2 separate regions of the Homo sapiens genome follow, and region 1 is linked to region 2. Evidence: promoter capture Hi-C in 16 types of primary human blood cells and fetal thymus (Javierre and others, 2016). All regions are on one chromosome and are shown on one strand. The core of a region is centred on a gene start or on the middle of the fragment in contact, and the rest is flanking DNA. Distances in the headings are between cores, read along the strand shown. Region 1 holds the start of USP22 (ubiquitin specific peptidase 22). Region 2 holds the start of AKAP10 (A-kinase anchoring protein 10).

Region 1 (7,491 bases), core at 3,050-5,549, 1.1 Mb after region 2:
CCAAGTTTTTCAACAGATAAAGTAGAAGCAAAAAACTGTAAGAAAGGAATGAAGAGAGAACCTACAGATTAAGAAACTTAAACGACTTACCAGTATAGCCACATGATAAATACCATTAAAAGAAAAAGGAATGAACTTTCGGCTGGGCGCGGTGGCTCACGCCTGTAATCCCAGCACTTCGGGAGGCTGAGGCAGACAGATCACAAGGTCAGGAGATCGAGACCATCCTGGCTAACACAGTGAAACCCAGTCTCTACTAAAAATACAAAAAAATTAGCTGGGCGTGGTGGCAGGCGCCTGTAGTCCCAGTTACTCGGGAGGCTGAGGCAAGAGAATGGCGTGAACCCAGGAGGCGGAGCTTGCAGTGAGCCGAGATCGCACCACTGCACTCCAGCCTGGGCGACAGAGCAAGACTCCGTCTCAAAAAAAAAAAAAAAAAAAAAAAAAGGAATGAACTTTCAATCCACTCAATGGATACAATGGATATTGCTAGACAAAAGAAGCCAGTATGAAAAGGCTACAGACTGTATGAACCCAATGATATGACATTCTGGAAAGGGAAAAACCTCCGAGATGGAGACGAGACCAGTGGTTGTGGAGAGTTAGAAGGTGAAGCACAGGGATTTCTTGGGGCAGTGCAACTGTTCTGTACAGTACTGTAGTTGTGGATGCCTCTGTCAAAATCCACTGAGCTTTAAAGCACAAAGAGCAAACCTTAATATATGCGATTTTAAAAATAACTGATGAGGCCCTATGGAATGCAGGCTGAGGCAGAAGAAACCAATTGTATTACACATATAGGACACAACTCCGCCAAGAGGGGTGGGGAGGGAAGTACCTAAGTAATGTGGAAATGAGGAGGGAGTGTAAGACTAAAAGCAAAAGGAACTGTAACTGAGCACTGTACTGTAAGGGGGGGGGGGGTCAAGTCATTTCCCAAGGGAGTACAGGACAATTCTGAAACCTCTCTTCATGTATACCAAAGCACAACAGGTAAGTAAGTAGATTGTCGACAGTGGGAGCCAGCATTTTCTCTGCTGGACAGAGAAGTTACAGATAAACTGGAGGGGAAGGCTAGAATAATCCCTATAGAAATGGATTAGAGTTGGAGATATAAACATGAACTCATGTAGAGCTTAATAGGGATGCTGATGAATATATATCAAATTACAGACGTGTATATGCACGCATTTGTATATACACACCTGTTTCCCAGCTCTGTCCCTTGAGGGGGCCAAGAAGCCAGGATATCCCAGTAATGATGAACACACCAGTGCCCAGATCTTGAGATCTAATTCCATTCTCCCAAAAAAGAAACTAGGGATCCTTGGAAAATGCTGGAGTCTAAGGCTGGGGCAGAAAACACATAAGATGATCCCAGAACATCGTGTAGTTCCAGAAAGTAAGGAAGTGCTCAAAAACAACGAACAAAAAATAATGTGGCTATGTGAAAGGGACACCGGAGCCAGCTGAAAGAGCTCCCAGTGGATACAGCCAGATGATGGGAGCAACACAACAAACCACACAGCACTGGATGATAACCCAAAGCATACATTCAATATCCACAAGTCCATGTTGATATACACAAATGAATAAACACACGAGTGAGGATCAGCAAATCTTCCATACATAAACGTTCCAAATAATTTAAGTAGCTACTCCATCCTCAAGGAGGAGGAACAGAACTCCCCACCCCGGTAGAGTACCTATGCAGAGTGACTCCCTTCTATTATAAACAGTACATAAAGGAGGGAAAGAGTCACTCCACAGTGGAGAAACCTGGCAAACATGACTTCGGCCATTCAGTCAAGCCCAGCAACCCAAGACATCTTGACAGCATCATCCTTAATTTACGGGAATGAGAAGGGCACTTCATCTCCCTGGTCTTCCTTCCCAAAACTCATAACCACAGCTGAATCATGAGAAAAACATCAGAAAACCAAAACTGAGGGACATTCTACAAACTACATGACCGGGACTCCTCAAAACTCTCAAGGTCACCAAACAGGACAGCCTGAGAAACTGTCACTGTCTAGAAGAGCCCAAGAGGACGTGAAGACTCAAAGTAATGTGGGATTCTGAGACAGAATAAGGACATTACATAAAAACCAATGAGTTCTGAATAAAGTATGCAGTGTAGTTAATGAACTAAATACACAAACACAAATGAGTAGAAGTAAAAGCGGGGAAATCTGAATGAGATGGTGGATTATATTGAAGATAGACTGTATCAATGTCAATATTCTGGTGGTAATTGTACTCCATTTCTGCAAGAAGTTACCCTTAGAGGACTGGGGAAAGATACACAGGATTACTCTATTTTCTTACACCAGTATGTCAATCTACAATGACCTCAAAATTAAAACCTTAAACAGAAAAATGTTTACATTTTAGATCTTTTACTTAGACCCCACTTAGTATGAATGGTGTAATGTTTTGTTGTGATGATTTGAAAGATCCAGTTCACTATAAAATAAAAAGTAAATTCCTCAAAGAAACAAAGTTTTAAAGTATACTTTTAAAATAGCACATATCATCCCAGCACTGTGGGAGGCCGAAGTGAATCTCCTAAGGCCAGGAGTTCAAGACCAGCCTGGGCAACATAGGGAGACTCAGTCTTTTATTTTTTTTTAATAAATAAATAAATACAATAGCACGTATCAGGAAAATGAGCTAGACTATGAAAATAAAAACAAGTAATGAGAGCTCTCTACAATGTGCTCACCACCATCCCAGCACCTGGCTGAGCCAGTAAAGACAGACTGAGGCATTGTTGGATGGCTGGGAGAGGTGGCTCATGCCTGTAATGCCAGCACTTTGGGAGGCCAAGGAGAGAGGATCACTTAGCTCAGAAGTTCAAGACCAGCCTGGGCAACATGGCAAAACTCATGGCTACCAAAAATACAAAAATTAGCCAGGTGCGGTGGCGCATGCCTGTAGTCCCAGCTACTTGGGAGGCTGAGGCAGGAGGATCACTGGACCCCAGGAACTCGAGGCTGCAGTGAGCCATGATCATACCACTGCACTCCAGCCTGAGTGAGAGACAGACCCTGTCTCAAAAAAAAAAAAAATACATAAAAAATAAAAAATTTAAAAAAGTGTTTTGAGGACACAGTGCCATAAAATTTTAGATTCAAAGAGAGAAATGGTTTTAAAAACATTACCTGTTCTCCAAAGTGTCTATATTCAAAATATAATGTAGAATGTTAAATCATAATCACTTCCTGCCAGTTCCTATCTTTACAGACAAACCCTGAAATGGTAAGAAATTTGTTATATTTAACACACACCAAAAACACAAAGGAGACGCCACTGTGGTCGTGCCAGTCCTAAATCATGGAAATAGTTTTTTTCTTTTTTTTTGAGACGGTCTCGCTCTGTCGCCCAGGCTGGAGTGCAGTGGTGCGATCTCGGCTCACTGCAACCTCCGCCTCCCTGGTTCAAGCGATTCTCCTGCCCCAGCCTCACGAGTAGCTGGGATTACAGGCGCGTGCCACCATGCCCAGCTAATTTTGTGTATTTTTAGTAAAGACATGGTTTCACCGTGTTAGCCAGGATGGTCTCGATCTCCTGACCTCGTGATCCGCCCGCCTCGGCCTCCCAACGTGCTGGGATTACAGGCGTGAGCCACCATGCCCGGCAGAAATATTTTTATAGTCTGCAATACAAGAGTTTTATGGCAATTCGGGCCAGGCGCGGTGGCTCATGCCTGTAATCCCAGCACTTTGGGAGGCCAAGATGGGCGGATCACCTGAGGTTGGGAGTTCGAGACCAGTCTGACCAACATGAAGAAACCCCATCTCTACGAAAAATACAAAATTAGCCAGGCATGGTGGCGCATGCCTGTAATCCCAGCTACTTGGGAGAATCACTTAAACCCTGGAGGGGGAGGCTGTGGTGAGCCGAGATCACGCCATTGCCCTCCAGCCTGGGCAAAAAGAGTGAAAACCCCATCTCAAAAAACAGAGTTTTACTGCAATTCAAGCTTCTTTTGGACAGAAATTTATCAAGCCTGGTCATGTTTTTGTCATGTTCTGCCTGTTAAAAGAAGAATCAAAGTTTGGGTACAAAATGCATAATCCATCTGTCCTTAGATAACAAAACTCGTAATTCCTATTCATTCAGGGATTCATTTCTTTAAACTGTACCTGAGATGTCCATCTCAAAAAGTACCTTTGTTTGTTTACAAAGATTATAATTCAAGTTGAAGTTTGTTTTGAGATAGGTTTTGTTGTCCAGGCTGGAGTACAGTGGCACAATCATCAGCTTAAAGTACTTTTACAGTCAAGTTCATATCATTAAAACCAAAAATATGGCTGGGCTCAGTGGCTCTGGCCTGTAATCCCAGCACTCTGGGAGACAGGAGGATGGCTTGAGTCCAGGAGTTCAAGACCAGCCTGTGCAATATAGTGAGACACTGTCTCTACAAATATTAGCCGGTCGTGGTGACACACGCCCGTAGTCCCAGCTACTCAGGAGAGGCTGGAGTCCAGGAATCTGAGGCTGCAGTGATCACTGACCAGACCATTGCACTCCATCCTGGGTAACAGAGCAAGACTCTGTCTCTACAAAAAATAATTTTTAATAAAATAAAATTTAAAAAACAAAATGTCCTAAGCTTACAGATCTGATGGAAATCCTATGCAGATTGTCCAACTGTTAATCATCAGGTTTGTTAAACTATTTCCCAAACCAACTCTTCCTTAACTGGGCCACTAGAGAGTGCTAGAAATGCAGGACACCGCACATGAAGTGATACAGGTAAATAAGTCCCCCCAGTCAGAGGAAAAAGCATGGAGGGCTTAAGGGCTCCTTGCTGGCACACTGCCAACTGGCACTGCAGCAGCCCCCACCTAAATTTTGAAAGAAATATTTTTCACTACCCGACTACAGTTCAACTTCTAATTGGTGAATAACATACATGTGGCTCAACAGTTTTGAAACTAAGCAACTGACATCTGAAATTAAAAGATTAATCAGAGCCATAAGTAGCGCAAAAAAAAAAAGTAATTCTTAACTTTAGGAAATTAGGCAAAGTTAGTTAATGATGGTTTAAACTTGACTCCTTCTATTTGGTTAAAAAATACCAGAGGGGGGAAGAAAGGGAGAGGGAGGGAGGGAACGGAAAAAGAAAAGGAGGGAGAGGAAGAGTGGGGCGGTCCCCACTTCATCCAAAGTAGTAACAAATCTTGGGCGCGTCACGTCCCAATCCGGACACTACTGACCCAGAGTAGCAACAGCACATTCCCTGTAGAAGACTGGCTTCAACCAGGCCACCCTTTTTTTTTTTTTTCCGGAGGGGGTCTTGCTCTGTCACCCAGTCTGGAGTACAGTGGCGCGATCACTGCTCACTGCAACCTCCGCCTCCCGGGTTGAAGTGATTCTCCTGCCTCAACCTCTGGAGTAGCTGGGATTACAGGCGCCCGCCATCACACCCGGCTACTTTTCGTATTTTTAGTAGAGATGAGGTTTCACCATGTTGGCCAGGCTGGTCTCGAACTCCTGACCTCGTGATCTGCCCCCCTCGGCCTCCCCACGTGCTGGGATTACAGGCGTCAGCCACCGCGCCAAGCCAGGCCATCTTTTCTTAAAGACACACAATTCTACTAGCAAGACTCTAACTCCGATCCTGAAACGTTTTATGTCTGATTTTAGTTCATCCAGACATAACGCTACCTGATACCATTACAGATAAAAAAAATTTTGAGGCCGGGCACGGTGGCTCATGCCTGTAATCCCAACACTTTGGGAGGCAGAGGCGGGTGGATCACCTGAGATCAGGAGTTCCAGACCAGCCTGGCCAACATGGTGAAACCCCGTCTCTACTAAAAATACAAAAATTAGCCGGGCGTGGTAGCAGGAGCCTGTAATCCCAGCTACTCAGGAGGCTGAGGCAGGAGAATCGGCTGAACCCGGGAGGCGGAGATTGTAGTGAGCCGAAATCGCGCCACTGCACTCCAGCCTGGGGTACAAAGCGAGACTTCGTCTCAAAAAAATAATTTTTTTTTTGAATTACTGCTTAACATACCCTACAATCTCAGCGAGCCTGTTGGTATTCCCATAAATAAAAAAATGCCACTCAAGGTGGAAACTGCCCTCACAACTCCCAATCTCGGATTGTAATCTACAAAAGCGCGTGAAACTGTAAAAATAAACTTTATTCACATAGAAGAATCACGTTACGTTTTGATTTCCAAACCCTTACCAAGCCTAACTGCGGGACGCAAGACTGGGCTCCCCGAGGGGACTCACTCCTGGTTAAGGCCTCCCACAGCCCACGGCGCGCTTCCAAGTCTACTCCTCAGCCGCAACGCAAACCCGGGCTGTGGCTCCGCACCCACAGGCTCGCCCCGGCCCCAGCCCCTGCCGCCCTCCACCTCCAGCTCCTCGCGGGCCCCGAGGCAGCCGCGAAGCTCCGGCCCCGCGCCCCCCAGCCCGCCTCCTGCCCCAGCTCCCGTCCAAGGTCGCTCCTGGCGGCGGGTGACCGCTGCAGACCAACGCCCAGAACTCGACAGCCCCCCATCCTTTACTCATTTTTTTGAAATATTTCTTTCTCTGCACCCGCATCCAGCCCCGAACCCTCCAGAACCAGGAGAGTTCCCCGCAAGGACCTCGCGCAGGAACGCCCGGGACCGCCCACCGAAGTCCCAGGCTCCCCAGGCAGCAGGGCAGGAGAACACCACCCCCGGCCCGGAAGCACTCGCCCCTCCCGGGCCAAGAAGGATAAGGGAGGGGGAGGGCGGAGAGAAAGGAGGGGGAGGGGACAGAGAGGAGGGGGAGGGGACAGAGAGGAGGGGGAGGGAAAGGAAGAATGGGGGAAGGGGGGAGAGGGGAAGGATAGGAAGATGAGGAGATAAGGGAAGGGAGAGAGTTGAGGGGGGAAGGAAAGGAGGGGGAAGGGGTAAAGAGAAGAGAGGGCAGAAGGAGAGAGGAAGAGGAAGGACAGGGAAAGGCAACGGGGGAAGGGAAGAGGGCAGGAAAAGGGCCCCTCCGCCGGCCGGCCTCAGGAGCGGCAGAAGGCCCCGAGCCCGCCGCGCGGTGGGCTGCCGGGCGCACCTTGCGCTTGCGGGCCTCAGCCGTGCCGCTCCACACGAAGCACTGGTAGATGGCCCGCAGGTTCTGCTTCCAGTTGTCCACCTTGAAGCTGCCCAGGTGCGAGCAGCCCGGCGGCGCTACCGCCAGCTCGGCGTCCATGGCCTCGCCCTCGGGCTCTGGCCGGGACACCATGGGGGGCAAGGCCCGGCCGCGCGCGGGGGGCGGCGGCGAGGGAGGCGAGGACGACGCCAGCGCGGCGTGGGGGCTGCTCGGCGGCTGGCCAGGCTGGCCAAGGCCCGGGCGCCGAGAACAAAGCGCGGAGGCCGGACAAAGATGGGGCTGCGCGATCGCCGAGGGGAGGCTGCAAGGCAGGCACCGCCCCCGAGCTGCGGCTGCTGCGGACCGCCTGCGCTGCGCTCTCGCGGTTCGCGGAGGGTGTCGCGGGGCGGGGCGCCG
Region 2 (7,399 bases), core at 1,796-4,295:
GGGCTCAAGTGATCTTTCTGCTTCAGCCTCCTGAATAACTCACAACACCCAGCTATTTATTTTTTCTTTTTGTAGAGATGGAGTCTCTCTATGCTGTACAGGTTGATCTCGAACTGGCCTCAGGTGATCCTCCTGTCTCAGCCTCCCAAAGCCCTTGATTACAGGCATGAGCCACCATGCCCTAGAATGATCTTTTTAAGATATAAGTTCAGATCACTCCTCTTTCAAAATTTTAAATTAATATTCTTTCTGTATTTTGTTTGACACATGGTCTCACTTTGTCATCCAGGCTGGAGTGTAGTGACTCAAATATGGCTCATTGTAGCCTCCACCTCCTAGGCTCAAGTGATCCTTCTGCCTCAGCCTCCTGAGTAGCTGGGACCACAGGTGTGCACCATCATACCCAGCAATTTTTTAAATGTTTTGTACAGGTCTCATGTTGCTCAGGCTGGTCTTGAACTCCTGGGTTCAAGCTATATTCCTGCCTCGGCCTCCTAAAATACTGGGATTACAGATATGAACCACCATGTTTGGCATCTCGGCATTAGGAATAAAACCTAACCATGGCCCGTAGAGCTCTCAATCACCCAACACTTGCCTACATCTATGCTCCAGTCACAGTAGCCTTCTTTCCTCTCTTGAAGGGCACCATGCTCTTTCTTGCCTCCTGGCCTTTGAACATGCGATTCCCTGGCCTCTCTAGTTACCTCCTACTGATCCTTCAGCTCTAAGTTTCAAGGTCACCTGCTGAGTCCTCTAACATCTAACCAAAATGCATTTCTCCTCTTAATCTTTCATAACACTTTACTCAACTTGTAAGTATACACCTATACACACACACTTACATGGAGCGAAAGGGAGAAGAGAGAAGATTTGTTTGCTTATTTATTATCTGTCTACCCCAGTAGACAATAAGCTCCATGGGTGCAGGGACATTCTCTGGTTCACTACTCAATCGTGAGGGCCTAGCACAGCACCTGGCAGACTCTGGACACTCAAAAGGTATTTGTTGAATAGAGACAACAGTCTCTTGTGCAATATGCAGTTTGCCTCATTATTCTTAGAATGTTTTCCCCCCTTAAAAAAACAAAAGTTAACCACTTCAATACCAATAAATTAGAGAGCTATTAGGTATACCCCTGCCTTACCAATAAAGCTTCCTCCTACTATTTTACCGGTTTCATTCATTAAGCACTTTCATGCATTCATCACCTGGCATCAGTTACCAAAACCGTGTACCCACTTAAGAAGAAGTATTTAAAGTCATTCAGAGTTCAATGGGCCTTTGGGAATCATCTAATTCTCAGCTGACAGAAGACAGAAAAGTAGGTTAACTGGTCTGCCCCTGTTACAGTTAGCAGCAGAGCTGTCATATGAAACCAAGTTCGATTTTGTTTAGTGCTTTTTCCAAAACCCATTTCTGGCTGGCCGCGGTGGCTCATGCCTGTAATCCTGGCACTTTGGGAGGCCGAGGTGGGAGGCCCACTTGAGGTCAGGGGTTCAAGACCAGCCTAACATGGTGAAGCCCCGTTTCTACTAAAAATACAAAAATTAGCCGGGCATGGTGGGGCATGGGTAATCCCAGCTACTTGGGAGGCTGAGGCAGGAGAATCGATTAAACCTGGGAGACAGAGGTTGCAGTGAGCCGAGACTGAGATCGCGCCATTGCACTCGAGCCTGGGCAACAAGAGCGAAACTCCGTCTCAAAACAAAAAAAGAAAACAAAACCCATTTCTGTCTGGTACTTTTTTTTTGAGACGGAGTTTCGCTCTTTTTGCCCAGGCTGGAGTGCAATGGTGCTATCTCGGCTCACCGCAACCTCCGCCTCCCAGGTTCAAGCGATTCTCCTGCTTCAGCCTCCCAAGTAGCTGGCATTACAGGCATGCGCCACCACCCTGGCTAATTTTGTATTTTTAGTAGACACGGGGTTTCTCCATGTTGGTCAGGCTGGTCTTGAACTCCCGATCTCAGGTGATCCACCCGCCAAGCCTCCCAAAGTGCTGGGATTACAGGCGTGAGCCACCGCGCCCGGCCTCTGTCTGGTACATTTTATCTGAAGCAACAGGAATTGACAGGAAAAATCACTGCTGTCCACAGACCCATACTTGCTCACTTCGGATATGTATTTTTAATGAAGTGCAACAACGTTACCCAGAATCAAAATTAAGCTGTTTCTACGTAAACATTGGGCAGGTAATACAACTGGAAATCAAAAATGTAAGTAGTTCGTTTGTAAGTTAGGGTTCCAGTAGTTAGCAAACTTGCCAAAGTCATCAAAAGTAGTGGTCTTCCTGTTGGGGAACTTTAGCAATAAGTAATTTTATTTTAGTAACAGCAGTAACTACCCCTCCCCCCAAAGAGGAAATTGGAAGACAGCACTGGGTGAAGAAAACAATTTTTTCACGTGTTGCTTTTAGACATAAAACCCTCAACATTTGGAAACTTCAGACTTCCATAATAAGGTTCTAAAGAGATTTCCTTGATCTTGATCCACGGTCCTCAAAGAAACACAAAAAAACTAACCCCCACCTAAGAACTGTTCTTAACCAAACAGGCAGGAACTTCTATGGGCTTTAGCAATCGCTTCTGAACCAGCGCGACAATACTCCTCTGACCTCGCGCAAGAAGGCCACCTTCTCCCTCCCAGAAGAGTCCCGGAGCAGAGCAAGGCACTCAGGGGGCATCTGCGCCGAGGTCGAGGCTCGCTGAAGGCCTTGCTGCCGCCTTGGGGAAAGCCCTCGCAGGCCCACCTGCCCCACCGCCGCCCCTGAGGCCCGGCCTGACTCCCCGCCGGCGCCCCCTCAGCTACCTTTCCGCCGGAAGAAGGACATGGCGGGGCCCGGGTCGGGACGGAGGGTGCGGGGGGACTGGCGCGGGGAGGGCCCGGCTCCCCTCATTCAGCAACCGGCCCGGACTTCCGGGTCCAGAGGGGCCGCTGCACTAGCGCGAAAAGGGACCCTTCTTCCGGGAGTGGGCCCCACCGCCTCCTCGGGATGCCCAGGCAGCTCCAGCCGCCATATTATCAACAAGCCGCCCGCCCGGAGTTCCGGTCCTTCCCCGCGCTAGGCTTCACGGGAGGTCAAGCGCCGGCCCCGCCCCTTTTCCCCATCCCCCTCCCGCGGGTGCAGGGGCGCACGCCCGCATCGCCCACGTGACCCGCGCGTGCTACCCGCGCCTCTTTCCCGGGCCCTGGGTGCCTGGAGCGAGCCACCGTTCCTGCAGCTGTTTTGTGGCGTCTGTCGCCGGCCCCCGGTGGAGCGCTGCAGACCCAGTCTCTGCAAAACTAACTCCCTGGGGCGGGAGCCCTCCCAGCAGCTGGAACGGGGCGGGCCTTAGGTCCCCGGCTTCCGGCCCCTGGGTACCCTTCAAATTGTGCCCTTCTAAAAGGCAGGGTCAACCCTGCCACGCTCCAGCTCGACCCCTCCTGCTCCTCCGTTTGAGTTTTGCTCACAGGCGCTGGCCGGCACGAGCAGCTTCACCCTGCACCCCAGTCCCTGCTTCCTCAGGAGAACCCGCCACGGCCTGCGGGTTCGAGGCGATGCAGAACCCTGATTAGGAAAAGGCACAACCTGCCGCATGCGGAACCAGCAGCTCCCTGGATCATTAGCGAATGAAAAGGGGAAGCGGGCTTATTTCGGAGTGCAGTCCCTGCGAATGCTCAACTTTGTAAGGGACTGCAACATAAAAGCCTCGCCAGTATTTAAAAGCTAGCTCCAGTGAATCATCCTTGCTCAAATGCCATTTTCCTGTGAATCTTCTGACCCTCTACTCCCAAAGCAAAATCAATCAAGCCTCCCTGTCTTTGGTGCTTCTTAACACCCGGCGAGTGCGCTCAGCGGCTGAGGTTGTAACTGCTCCCTGGGGTTGGGGTTGGGGAGGGCAGGAAGGTAATAGTAACTCAATAAATGTTCGCTGGGGTTTTTAAACCAATGAAGTTTATCATGTGACGGATGGGGAAACAGGCCCAGAAGAGACAACTAGCCCAAGATTGTTCAGAATGTTAGAAATACCAAAATTGTTAGAAATAGATAATCGGTGCCACGAAGAAAAGTCAGCACGGAGACAAAAGATCTCCAGCAAGGCAATCTTTACTTTCTGCAGAAAGGGTGCTCAATCGCAGATGGAACGATGTCGAGAGCACACCTGAACAAAGGAAAAGCAAACATATTTATCCCTTACGCATTTGGGTCGTCCTCACTGCTATGTCCTGCATCCATTGGCTGGAGCGGGACCTCACACTCTTAAACTGATAGCCGATTTGCTAATAGCCTAAAACTTTCTAAATAGGTAAGTGCAAGGAAGAACGAAGAAGGAGAGGAAGTTGCTTACCGAAAGGTTTAAGGAAGCAATAACATTTCCAAATAAGGAAGGGGCATAGGCTGTGAACTGGAACGTGCCTGTGAGCATGTCCAACAGTTACATAGGATAGGGCTTAACAAAGAGTTATTAGCACAAAGCAAGGAGGCTTGAAGAAAGTTAGTCTTTAAAATAAACTATTACTTCTAACACTTATGATGTATTCTTTAACAAGAAGGGGAACTTTGAAGAGGAAACTTTTTACTTTCTACAAGAATGTCCAAGTTTAAGACTATAACTAGAACCCGAAATAGGCAAATCCCTTAACCTGCTCTAATAATAATATGGTCTTTTCACTATATTGTTAGAGCAGGTTAAAAGATTTACTTATTTCATTTCTGGCCAGATGCAGTGGCTTATGCCTGTAATCCCAACACTTTGAGAGGCTGAGGCAGTCAGATCACCTGAGGTCAGGAGTTAGACCAGCCTGGCCAAGATGGCGAAACCCCGTCTCTACTAAAAATACAAAAATTAACTGGGCGTCGTGGCATGCCTGTAGTCCCAGCTAATCAGGAGGCTGAGGCAGGAGAATCTCGAACACGGGAGGTGGAGGTTGCAGTGAGCCAAGATCGCGCCACTGCACTCCAGCCTGGGCGAGAGGAAGACTCCTTAAAAAAAAAAAAAAAAAAGATGTGCCTATTTCGTTTCAGAGCATGGCATGTTTGCAAGTGCATGAAAGGTAACCAAAACTGACATGGAAATTTACTATGCGACGGTACTGTGCTAAACCCTCCAGATGAGTAATAGTCCTTGGAGTCAGTCCTGGTATCTGGAAAACTAGGCACTGAAAAATAAAGTCAACTGCTCAAGGTCACACGCTAACTAGGGATGAAGCCTGGATTTCAAGGTGAAGCCTTTCTCCAGTTAAGGACAGCGCGTCCAGGCGCACTGGACGGAAGCAGCGCTGGCAGAGGCTCCGGACGTCCGGAGTGAGCTGGCGCCGAATGGACGCGGTCTGGCCGCTTCCTCCTGGCCTCGGCCGGGCCTGCACCGGGAGGCTGAGCGGCGCCCCACCAGGGATCCGAGATGCCCTCGGGAGCCAATCTGTGTTCTTGGCGGACCACACCCCGCTGTCTGTAGCCAATAAAACCTTGGATCGTGCATCCCACCCCCACCAAAGGGAGATTGGCTGAAGCCAAGGACCCGGGCGCGGTCTACGTGGGATTTCTCTGCAGGCTGAGGGGACAAGTGGCTGTGTCTACCAGGGGCCCAAGTACAGGGCATCAGCAAGAAAGCGCAGCGCCCTTCTCCTGTTCCCTTCCAGCGTGCAGAACCTCGCAGGGGCTATTTTGTATGTGTTGTGTGGTTAGTTGGATGGGGCGGGAGGGACGTAGGGGAGGGGAGAGTGCGAGAAATCCCCTGAATGTCTCTGGCACGGGAGCAGATCCCACAGAGTTGGAGGCGGAGGACTCTAAGTTCCTCTAAATCTCCTCTAAGCCTTCCTCATTCTCTCCAGCTAAGCAGTCTGTGCAGAAGCAGTGCCTCACCTCGACTTCCAGTGTGATTTGCTGCCTTTGAGCCCTGCCCACCAGAAATTCTGAAGTCGCCGTAATCCCCGACAGCTGCATACACCTCAGTCATGATAATGGCCGTCATTATTTATGAAGTACTTATTATGCGCCCTCCTTGTATTAAGTGCTTTACAATTACTAGCTCACTTAATCCATAATTCCTGCCCTTCCCCGAAAAGAGACCCTGTGAGATGGCTGCCATCGCAACCCCCAATTTACAGATGTGGCCCTGAGGATCGGGGTAACTTATGTAGGATCATGAGGCTGTTAAGAGGTAGAGACAGGATTTCAATCGCTGTCAATCAGACTCCAAAGCCATTTGCTTATACCACTTTCTCCTATCTTTCTCTCCACCCACACATTTATCCAGGGTCCCAAAATGGGATGTCTGTCGGGCAGGTATATGGGGGTGAATGATATCTGGCAGTACATATTCTTCGGGTACCTTCTGAATCATCACCCATTAAAATGTTTATATGCTTAGGGAAGCTTGCTGCTAAGAGTATTGTCATTTAATCTTTTGAAATTTGATGATCCACATATGAGTAAAGTTAAAAGAAGAATTTAAAAATAACAAGAATATTACATTAGGCTGAATACGCAGCTGTGGCAAACTAATACCCTGCATTGTATTTCTGAATTAACTTCATAAAGTCATTTTAGTTTACATGTAAGATAAAATTAATTTTTATCAGGAGTTCCTTTAATTATGCTCCTAATTTTTGGGAACCGTCACAGTGTTGTTTTGTTTTATGTGTTTTTTTTCTTTTTTTTTTTTAGACGGAGTTTCGCTCTTGTTGCCCAGGCTGGAGTGCAATGGCGCGATATCGGCTCACTGCAACCTCCACCTCCCGGGTTCAAGTGATTCTCCTGCCACAGCCTCCCGAAGAGCTGGGATTACAGGCATGCACCACCACGACCGGCTAATTTTGTATTTTTAGTAAAGATGGGGTTTCACCATGTTGGTCAGGCTGGTCTTGAACTCCTGACCTCAGGTGATCCGCCTGCCTCAGCCTCCCAAAGTGCTGGGATTATAGGCGGGAGCCACCATGCCCGGCCTCGTCACAGTCTTTTTATACCAGTTGTATTAATTACAACAAATCAGTGAGGTAAAATCAGTAAGTTAATTATCACAAATCCAGTGAATGGTTTAATCTAACATTGTTTAAAAATCAATGAATAGTATTCTACAACAAACATTCTAACAAATATAGTTTATCAAACATTCATAACTTTTTTTTTCGAGACAGATTCTCATCTCACTCTGTCGCCCAGGCCAGACTGCAGTGGTGGGATCTCAGCTCACTGCAACCTCCACCTCCTGGATTCAAGCAATTCTCCTGCCTCAGCCTCCTGACTACAAATGTGTGCCACCATGCCTGGTAATTTTTGTATTTTTAGTAGAGACGGGGTTTCACCATATTGGCCAGGCTGGTCTTGAACTCCTGAGCTTAGGTGATCCACCTGCCTCAGCCTCTCAAAGTGTTGGGATTACAGGCATGAGTCACTGCACCCGGCCCTGGTTTTAGTTT

What was found. The method cuts DNA at HindIII sites, captures the fragments that hold promoters and counts their contacts. A CHiCAGO score of 5 or more calls a contact.
Region 1: a contact is called between a fragment that was not itself captured here and the fragment with the promoter of AKAP10 in region 2, in 4 of 17 cell types (fetal thymus, total CD8 T cells, total B cells and 1 more). The highest score is 7.3, in fetal thymus.

Annotation. Positions count from the first base shown.
Region 1 is chr17:21,035,609-21,043,099 of GRCh38, forward strand. It overlaps USP22 (ubiquitin specific peptidase 22), which reads right to left and starts at 7,403. Exons shown (of 13, transcript NM_015276.2): 1 at 7,057-7,403. The coding sequence starts at 7,227. RefSeq lists a silencer at 7,089-7,491 and an enhancer at 7,224-7,491. The HindIII fragment of the contact is 633 bases long and covers 3,984-4,616 here.
Region 2 is chr17:19,974,783-19,982,181 of GRCh38, forward strand. It overlaps AKAP10 (A-kinase anchoring protein 10), which reads right to left and starts at 3,046. Exons shown (of 15, transcript NM_007202.4): 1 at 2,810-3,046. The coding sequence starts at 2,897. RefSeq lists a silencer at 2,754-2,943 and an enhancer at 3,416-4,129. The HindIII fragment of the contact is 5,200 bases long and covers 1,155-6,354 here.